Regions from separate parts of the Homo sapiens genome. Here all the other regions are linked to region 3. The links are contacts of gene promoters, found by promoter capture Hi-C in blood cells and fetal thymus (Javierre and others, 2016). All regions are on one chromosome and are shown on one strand. The core of a region is centred on a gene start or on the middle of the fragment in contact, and the rest is flanking DNA. Distances in the headings are between cores, read along the strand shown.

Region 1 (2,700 bases), core at 1-2,500, 92 kb before region 3:
CAAACACTGACATAAGTGAAGGGACAGGTATAATTTTTTTTTTTTTTGAGAAGGAGTCTTGCTCTGTCACCAGGCTGGAGTGCAGTGGCGTAATCTCCGCTAACTGCAACCTCCGCCTCCCGGGTTCAAGTGATTCCCCTGCCTCAGCCTCCCGAGTATCTGGGACTACGGGCGCGTGCCACCATGCTCGGCTAACTTTTTGTATTTTAGTACAGATGAGGTTTCACCATGTTGGCCAGGATGGTCTTGAACTACTGACCTCAAGTGATCCACCCACCTCAGCCTCCCAAAGTGCTGGGATTACAGGCATGAGCCACCGTGCCCGGCCTAAATATTCTATCCTTTATATGAAAAAAAAAATACGGCACTAAAAAGCTAAAGACTTTGCCAAAATTAGATAATCTTCTCAAATTAAGTTCCCCAACCTCAAAAACCTCAGCTTCCAGACTCAGGCCCCTCAATCTCGGAGCCAAAATCAATCTAAGGGTACAGCGACTCCAGACCTTTCAATTTACAGAAGGGGTAATTTCATTCAGCAAAGGCAAGACCTCAGACTGACCTCATTTCAAGGCTGGGACCCAGCAGTTGCCGGTGATGTCCTTGGACAGGTCAGGAGACTTACTTGCCAGGCCTACCTAAAAAGTGTATCCCAACTACCAAAACCAGAAGGAAATTACGTATGAAATATAAAATATCACAGCAGTCCTCCCTTACCTACAGTTCCGCTTGCTGTGGTTTCAGTTACCCACAGTCAACCTCAGTCTGAAAATAGTAACATGGAAATGCCAGAAATAAACAATTCATAAGCTTTAAACTGCCCGCCGTTCTGAGAAACATGATGAAACTGAGTGACATCCCGCTCTGTCCCATGACCATCCCTTTGTCCAGCTTCTCCGTGCCATCTAGGCCACCTGCCCGTTAAGTCACTTGGTAGCTGTCTTGCTGATCACATCAACTGTTGCGGATGTGATCACGGATAAAAGTGAACACAAGCCACTTTTATTTGGCTTAATATGGCCCCAAAGCTCAAGAGTACTGATGCTGCAATTTGGATATGCCAAAGAAAAGCCATAAAGGGCTTCTTTTACGTGAAAAGGTAAAAATTCTTAATAAGAAAACAATATCAAATAACAAGGTTGCTAAGATCTACAGTAAGAACAAATCTATCCATGAAATTATGAAGGAAAAAAGTTTGCACGTAATACAAATGGGGTTCAGTATTATCTGTGGTTTCAGACAACTACCGGAGGTCTTGGAATGTATCCCTCAAGGATGGGGGTGAGTACTCTATTATCATAAACAGGAAATGAGGAAGCCCAAGAGATGCTGTGCTGAGGGACACACACTTGGACGGAAGCAAACTGGGGCAAAATCCTCCTGGTACTGACCAGCTTAGGCTAGTCTTCCTTTAAATTGAGCTCACCTCACACAACTGTCAATTACACATGTATGGGGAGCAATCACATTATCCTAAAGCCTCATTTTAATCTACCATTCTCACTTAATTCTCTGAGTTTCTTACCAGAGCTGCTAACATATAATAATAAAACTCACACTCAATTCTATCTCAATTTCTACTCTTCAGCACCCTCTGCTACAGGTACTGGCCAACATAAAACAAGAGGCAAGAAAAAGACTCACATATCCATTAGGCGGGTCATTTTAATCCTTGAAAACTGAGTTTACTTCCTACCTAAGCTTCCATCCGCTTAATACCAAGGTGATCAAGTCTGTGTGCTAAATACAGGAAAAGCCTTAATAGGAGACCCTGCTACCAATTTGTAGGAAATAGGACAAAAAAAAAACAAACCACAACACTTTGAACTTCCACTGTTGAGTATGCAAACAGCAAAATCCAGACTATAGGGAAGTCAACAAGTCACAAGGCCCAAGTTTTTCAACAGATAAAGTAGAAGCAAAAAACTGTAAGAAAGGAATGAAGAGAGAACCTACAGATTAAGAAACTTAAACGACTTACCAGTATAGCCACATGATAAATACCATTAAAAGAAAAAGGAATGAACTTTCGGCTGGGCGCGGTGGCTCACGCCTGTAATCCCAGCACTTCGGGAGGCTGAGGCAGACAGATCACAAGGTCAGGAGATCGAGACCATCCTGGCTAACACAGTGAAACCCAGTCTCTACTAAAAATACAAAAAAATTAGCTGGGCGTGGTGGCAGGCGCCTGTAGTCCCAGTTACTCGGGAGGCTGAGGCAAGAGAATGGCGTGAACCCAGGAGGCGGAGCTTGCAGTGAGCCGAGATCGCACCACTGCACTCCAGCCTGGGCGACAGAGCAAGACTCCGTCTCAAAAAAAAAAAAAAAAAAAAAAAAAGGAATGAACTTTCAATCCACTCAATGGATACAATGGATATTGCTAGACAAAAGAAGCCAGTATGAAAAGGCTACAGACTGTATGAACCCAATGATATGACATTCTGGAAAGGGAAAAACCTCCGAGATGGAGACGAGACCAGTGGTTGTGGAGAGTTAGAAGGTGAAGCACAGGGATTTCTTGGGGCAGTGCAACTGTTCTGTACAGTACTGTAGTTGTGGATGCCTCTGTCAAAATCCACTGAGCTTTAAAGCACAAAGAGCAAACCTTAATATATGCGATTTTAAAAATAACTGATGAGGCCCTATGGAATGCAGGCTGAGGCAGAAGAAACCAATTGTATTACACATATAGGACACAACTCC
Region 2 (2,763 bases), core at 253-2,752, 72 kb after region 3:
GGAGCCCAGAGTTCCCCACGTGAACTCAAGTGGACACCCAAAGGCCTCCAAGCCTCGTCACCTTATCCTACCATGTTCCTGAACAGCATGGTGGCAGTGATGGCCTTCGGAATGATGAGGCCAAGGTGAGCCAGGAGACTGCTCCTGGGCGGGGTTTGGCCCCAGGACTACCTTGGATCTAGGCTTGTCGTCGCTGTAAGTGGTAACACTGGGCCGCAGCTAGGAGCAGGGCAGGGTGGCTACCATGGCACCTGCTCCTTCCATGTGCAAGCCGCCACCCAGAGCAGATGTGCAGCAGCAGCTGCGGGCAGTCATGGAAAGAGAGAACAGCGGGAGTTGAAATTCTCATAATTTTAATGATCAATAGCTTCTGGTGGGCTCTGGATGGTACAGTTAAACAATAGACTTAAAGACCTCCCCCAAAGCACGTCCACACCCCCTCGGCAGCGTCTGCCTCCATCAGCATTCCACTGCCCAGTCGGACTTCCACAGCCTCAGACCCCCCTCTTGGGTTATGGAAATCCACATCTTAGTGTAATGAGCTGAAAAACCCTGGGTACACCCGTGATCTGTTATTTTTTAAAAATAACAAATACTAAGCCAAACACCTGCCCAGGCTCTGCTGCCTCACAGAGTGTGGCGATCTGAATACTCTGTTGTCTCTTGTGGGCCGGGTGGTTTTGCTTCGCTCCCTGTTCTACTGAAATCATACGGCATAGAGTTCGTAAATCTTCTTTACACAGTACACCAGGGCGGCCAGTGCTATCGTGTTGTGCAGTCTCTTTCTGTGCAGGTCGTCCTTCCGGACCAGCACCACCGGGGTGGAGGAGGTGAGTGTGTGCAGAGGCAGGCGCGACAGTTTATAGGCGTCGTACTCCACTTGGTACTTGCAGCAAGGGTCAAACTGCCAGGAGATCCCATAGAGGGTGCAGCAGGCCAGGCTCAGCACACCAGCGGGCAGGGAAATGTAGTGGGAATAATCTAAGGGCAGCGCCAACGGGGTGAAGAGGCAGGCGGTGCCCGCCAGCACGGCCGTCTTGTGCAGGCAGTTGCCCACGGTGATCCAGCGGGCTGTCTCGTCGCCAATGCGAGTGGGCTCAATCACAATGTACTTGTACTGGGCTTCCAGGGCCTGCTCCAGCTCGTACTCAAACTGGTCTTGGGCATTCTCCCCATTGTAGATCTCATGCACAATGTAGCAGTCTGTGGCCGACAAGCTCACCCTTTTGATGGAGGGGGCAGGAAAGGGAGAGAGAGAGAGAGACAGGATGATTAGGCTGAGGAGCACTTAACTGTGTTTCAGCGCTGGGGGAGGTCTGAGCCTGCACTGCGGAGAGCACATCTCACTTGGGTCCTCATCTCCTTTAAATCCCAACACAAGATAATCAGTAAAAAGGATTTTTCCTGAAAATAGTGAAATAAAGCTGGGTGTGGTGGCTCACACCTGTAATCCTAGCACTTTGGGAGGCCGGGGGGGCGGATCATGAGGTCAGGAGTTAGAGACCAGCCTGGCCAACATGGTGAAACCCTGTCTCTACTAAAGATACAAAAAAAAATTAGCCAGGTGTGGTGGCGCATGCCTATAATCCCTGTAATCTACTCGGGAGGCTGAGGCAGGAGAATCACTTGAACCTGGGAGGCGGAGCTTGCAGTGAGCCGAGATCGTGCCATTGCACTCCAGCCTGGGTGACAGGGCGAGACTCAGTCTCAGAAAAAAAAAAAAAAAAAAGATATAAAAAGGCAGGAAAAGCAGTGCCTCGACGTTTAACATGACAAACACAGGCCTGGTGGTTAGCCTAAGGCTGTGGACCAACTGATCTGAGTCAGCAAAGGAGCCTAAAGGGGAAAGAACGATTCGGCACAGAATCACAGGAGCACACACGGCAGCAGAGGGCCAACAGCCTGAAAGCCATTCTTAGTTAATCAGGGCAACTGCAAGAGGATTCTTCACTGGAAACCACAGACCTCAGGACAGATAATGCTAAGCCCTTGCCCTCCGCACGTTTCCTAAGTAGTCATCCTGGGCCTGCAGAACAGAGGCAGAAAGGAAGAGCTTTGCCTTGGGCGAATGAAATCCAAACTCCTTTGGCTCTCCTGGAGGCCAGGCTGCACAAGCCCTGGGTGCCCTTCCTGGGCCGGCAGCAGCCCCCAGCTCCTCCCCGCTGCGGAGGGGAGAAGAGGAGACCCAGGACACTAGCCCACTGCATAGGAAAAGCGACCCTTTCCTTGAATTAGGAAAAGACAACGCTTCAAGAACAGTAGTGGGCTCCAAATTTAGTAAGCAGGAGGGTCAACTGAGGGGCTTCAAAACATCCAGCCCAGCAATGCCACCAATTCTGGCCCTGTAGGCCCAGGCCCCTGCACCACCGGCAAATGCCACTCATTTGCATAAGAAACACTGCCACGGAGACCACACAAGGGGCTTTCCCCCCCGGGACTGGGGATGCATGTCATGACCCCAACCAGCAGGAGAGTAATCCACCACACGGAACGCTCAGCTCTGCAGCAAGGCCAGACGGCAGCCCGGCTGCAGCCCCAGCAGTGACCGTGGGCCAAGCTGCATTTCAGGCAGTCTTGCTTTTCTTGGTTTCAGGCCTCTGCGGTACAAATTTCCCACCCAAAGCAGAATCTTCTTCACCTGTGGCGGGCAGGCCTGAAGACAGGGCTATCCATGCCTTGTCATCTTTCCTTGGCTGGTTTCAGCTGAGACAGATCTCTCTGAATCTCCGCACCGTCACCCCACATCCTAGTTTTCCGTTATCT
Region 3 (2,700 bases), core at 19-2,518:
AATCTAGAGTTTCCAGAACAATGGAGAGGGGCCAGAAAGGTATAAAAACTTTTGTGAAAACGTCAAAAATAAATATTTAGTTAAAAATAAAATTTCCCATTTTCAGATTTTGTGAATATCTGTAAGAATTTCCAGGATATATTAATTCGCTAAAGTTAATAAAAGCAAGAAACAGAAGGACGTTTCAGAATGCTATTGTTTGTGTAACAAGGGGGTGCTGAATACATACATAATTGCTTGGTTATGAATAAACTGGCTCTGGAAGGACACACATAGCTAATAGCATCGTTACCTAGGGGGAGGTGAAGTGGGTCCTGGAGAACAGAAAGGGAGATTTTCCACCTTACACACATTTGCCATCTTATGATTTTGAACGATAAGAGTCCCCCCGCCCCTTCCTTCCTCTGCCCTGCCCCTTCCTTCCTCTGCCCTTTACTCTCTCAATATCCTCTTTTCATGCTTTTTTTTTTTTTTTAAATCACTTCGGGTCCTTTAAAAAATTTACTTGCAAGAAGTACGTACATATTCTGAATAAAATTCATTTTCAGATATATGTATTACAAATATCTTGTCTGTTCTATTGTCTTTCCCTTTTCTCAATGGGGTCTTTTCGGTGTCTTATAGTTACAGACACCCAATTTATCAGCTTTTTCCTTTAGGACTGGCACTTTTTGTGTTCTGCTAACACGTTATTTTCCTCTCTTATGGTCATAATATTCTGCGATTTTATTGTCTAGAGTTGTATTGTTCACATTCAGGTCTACCATCCGTCTAGAATTATTTTACTTGAGATAGGAGTCAAGGTTCATTTCCCCCCAATCGACCTTCAATTGACCTAGCACTATATATTGAAAAAACTCTTCTTATTGCATTACAGTGGCTACTTGTAGGAGGAAAAAGTGACTACATAGCTGCAGGTCTGTTTCTGGTCTCTCTCTTTTTCATTCATTGTTTTTACCTTTGTGCCAGTTATCACACTGTTCTGATTACTGTGGCATTATAATCATCTTGATAACTGTATCGTGAATTCTCCAACTGTGTTCTTCGCCGGAAGTCCACGGAACACCAACCACGACCTTCGGAATTTCCCTCCGGAAGATGAAGGCACTGTAGTTATGCGGGTGGACCCTATCAGATCTCGGGTCCATCGGGTCCTGTGTACACCTTGAGGGACGCCCACCCAACGCGCATGCGCAGCCTCAATGCTGGGATTGGACGGAGCCTCGCCGGCTGCGTACACGTCACTTCCGAGGCGGGAGGATGAAGTTGATTGACTATGGTCTCTCCGGCTACCAGGTAGGGGCTGGGGAAGAAGGAACCTCCGAGATGAGGCGATAGGGTCTGGCCTTGAGCTGAGGCGACGCCCCGGCTTGGGTGAGGGGAAGCGGTGTAGTGGTCGAGCTAAGGCCGCGGGCCCTGGGCGGCTTCCGGATCCCCGCGACGCCGAACTCTGAAGGAAGACTCAGCCCAGGCGCTGGGACCAGAGCCCTGGCTCCGGCGAGTGCGTGGCGGGGAAACCCGCCTGTCGCCGAGGTGTCTTGAGTCCAGTTTCCGCTGCTGGGAATGGGTGTCGCGCCGGGCGCTGTGTGTGAAAGGCCTCGCGCCCACAGGGCTCCTGGCTTCAACCTGTTTATTCCCACATTTCTGCGCGACGTAGGGGAGGCTCCGCAGCGTCTGCGAGTGGCAGGACCGAGGGTTGAGCGCTGGGGGCCAGTGGCACCTTAGCCAGTGACGGCGAGTTAGGACTAGCAAAGGAAGTCCGGTTTTTCAGAAGGCAGGAGGAGGGTGCTGACTCGAGCGTCCACGGGAATGGCTGGTTGAGATATCTTGCTCTTCCAATACTTACTCTGCGGCTTCCTGGCTGTGCGGCTTTGGGCAAATGTTTTAAACTCTGAGTGTTTCTTCAGCTGTAACTTTGGGAGTAACAAGCCCACTCATAAGGTTGTTGTGAAGCGTAAATGAGACTGCGCGTGCAAGGTGCTCAGCTGGTGTCTGGCACATAGTAGGTATTCAACAAATGGTAGCCACATAATGCTCTTTTTTTCAGTTTCCAAACCTTCCATGTAGTGATTGGAGAATCGTGAAGTTACTTTTGAAGTAACGTTTGGGTTTCACACACTCATACATTTAGTAAGCAGAATTCTTGCTTACACTGTTGCCGATTGCAACGGTGTGTTTGCATAATGGAAGCTATGTTTGTGCCTTTGCCAAGGGTGTGGAATATGCCTTCCCTACCATGTACATGTCCCCTTTTCTCCATTCCTTAATAATAGTTGATATTTTTTGAGTGTTTGCTATGTTACAGGCACTGTACTAATCCCTTTACTGAATTATTCAATCCTGTAATAACCCTAATCATAGGAACTATAATTTTTATTTATGGAGGGAGAAATGGGCTTAGAGATGTTAAGAAGTTTATCCAAAGGCATAGAGCTATTAGCCAGGCAAGGTAGCACACGCCTGTAGTCCCAGCTATTTGTTGGGGCTGAGGCAAGTGGATTGCTTGAACCTGGGAGACAGGCTGCAGTGAGCCGAGATCACGCCATTGCATTCAAGTCTGGGTGACAAAGTGAGACCCTGTCTTGGCTGGGCGCAGTGGCTCACACATGTAATCCCAGCACTTTAGGAGGCTGAGGCGGGCGGATCACCTGAGGTCAGGAGTTCGAGACCAGCCTGGCCAACGTGGTGAAACCCCGTCTC

Evidence for each region. Contacts are between HindIII fragments. The CHiCAGO score rates a contact against its expected background, and 5 or more counts as called.
Region 1: a fragment that was not itself captured here is called in contact with the fragment with the promoter of DHRS7B in region 3 in 2 of 17 cell types (monocytes and fetal thymus); the score reaches 6.7 in monocytes.
Region 2: a contact is called between a fragment that was not itself captured here and the fragment with the promoter of DHRS7B in region 3, in 5 of 17 cell types (monocytes, megakaryocytes, neutrophils and 2 more). The highest score is 6.9, in monocytes.

What each region holds. Positions count from the first base shown.
Region 1 is chr17:21,033,721-21,036,420 of GRCh38, forward strand. The region is part of intron 1 of USP22 (ubiquitin specific peptidase 22); the gene reads right to left. Among named protein-coding and RNA genes, the nearest start is that of USP22, 7.9 kb to the right of the region's middle. RefSeq lists an enhancer at 182-683 and a silencer at 705-824. The HindIII fragment of the contact is 891 bases long and covers 806-1,696 here.
Region 2 is chr17:21,197,618-21,200,380 of GRCh38, forward strand. It overlaps TMEM11 (transmembrane protein 11), which reads right to left. Exons shown (of 2, transcript NM_003876.3): 2 at 337-1,223. The coding sequence ends at 707. Among named protein-coding and RNA genes, the nearest start is that of TMEM11, 15 kb to the right of the region's middle. RefSeq lists an enhancer at 1,285-2,082. The HindIII fragment of the contact is 3,903 bases long and covers 1-2,763 here.
Region 3 is chr17:21,125,696-21,128,395 of GRCh38, forward strand. DHRS7B (dehydrogenase/reductase 7B) reads left to right here and starts at 1,269. Exons shown (of 7, transcript NM_015510.5): 1 at 1,269-1,296. The coding sequence starts at 1,277. RefSeq lists an enhancer at 931-1,590. The HindIII fragment of the contact is 14,531 bases long and covers 1-2,700 here.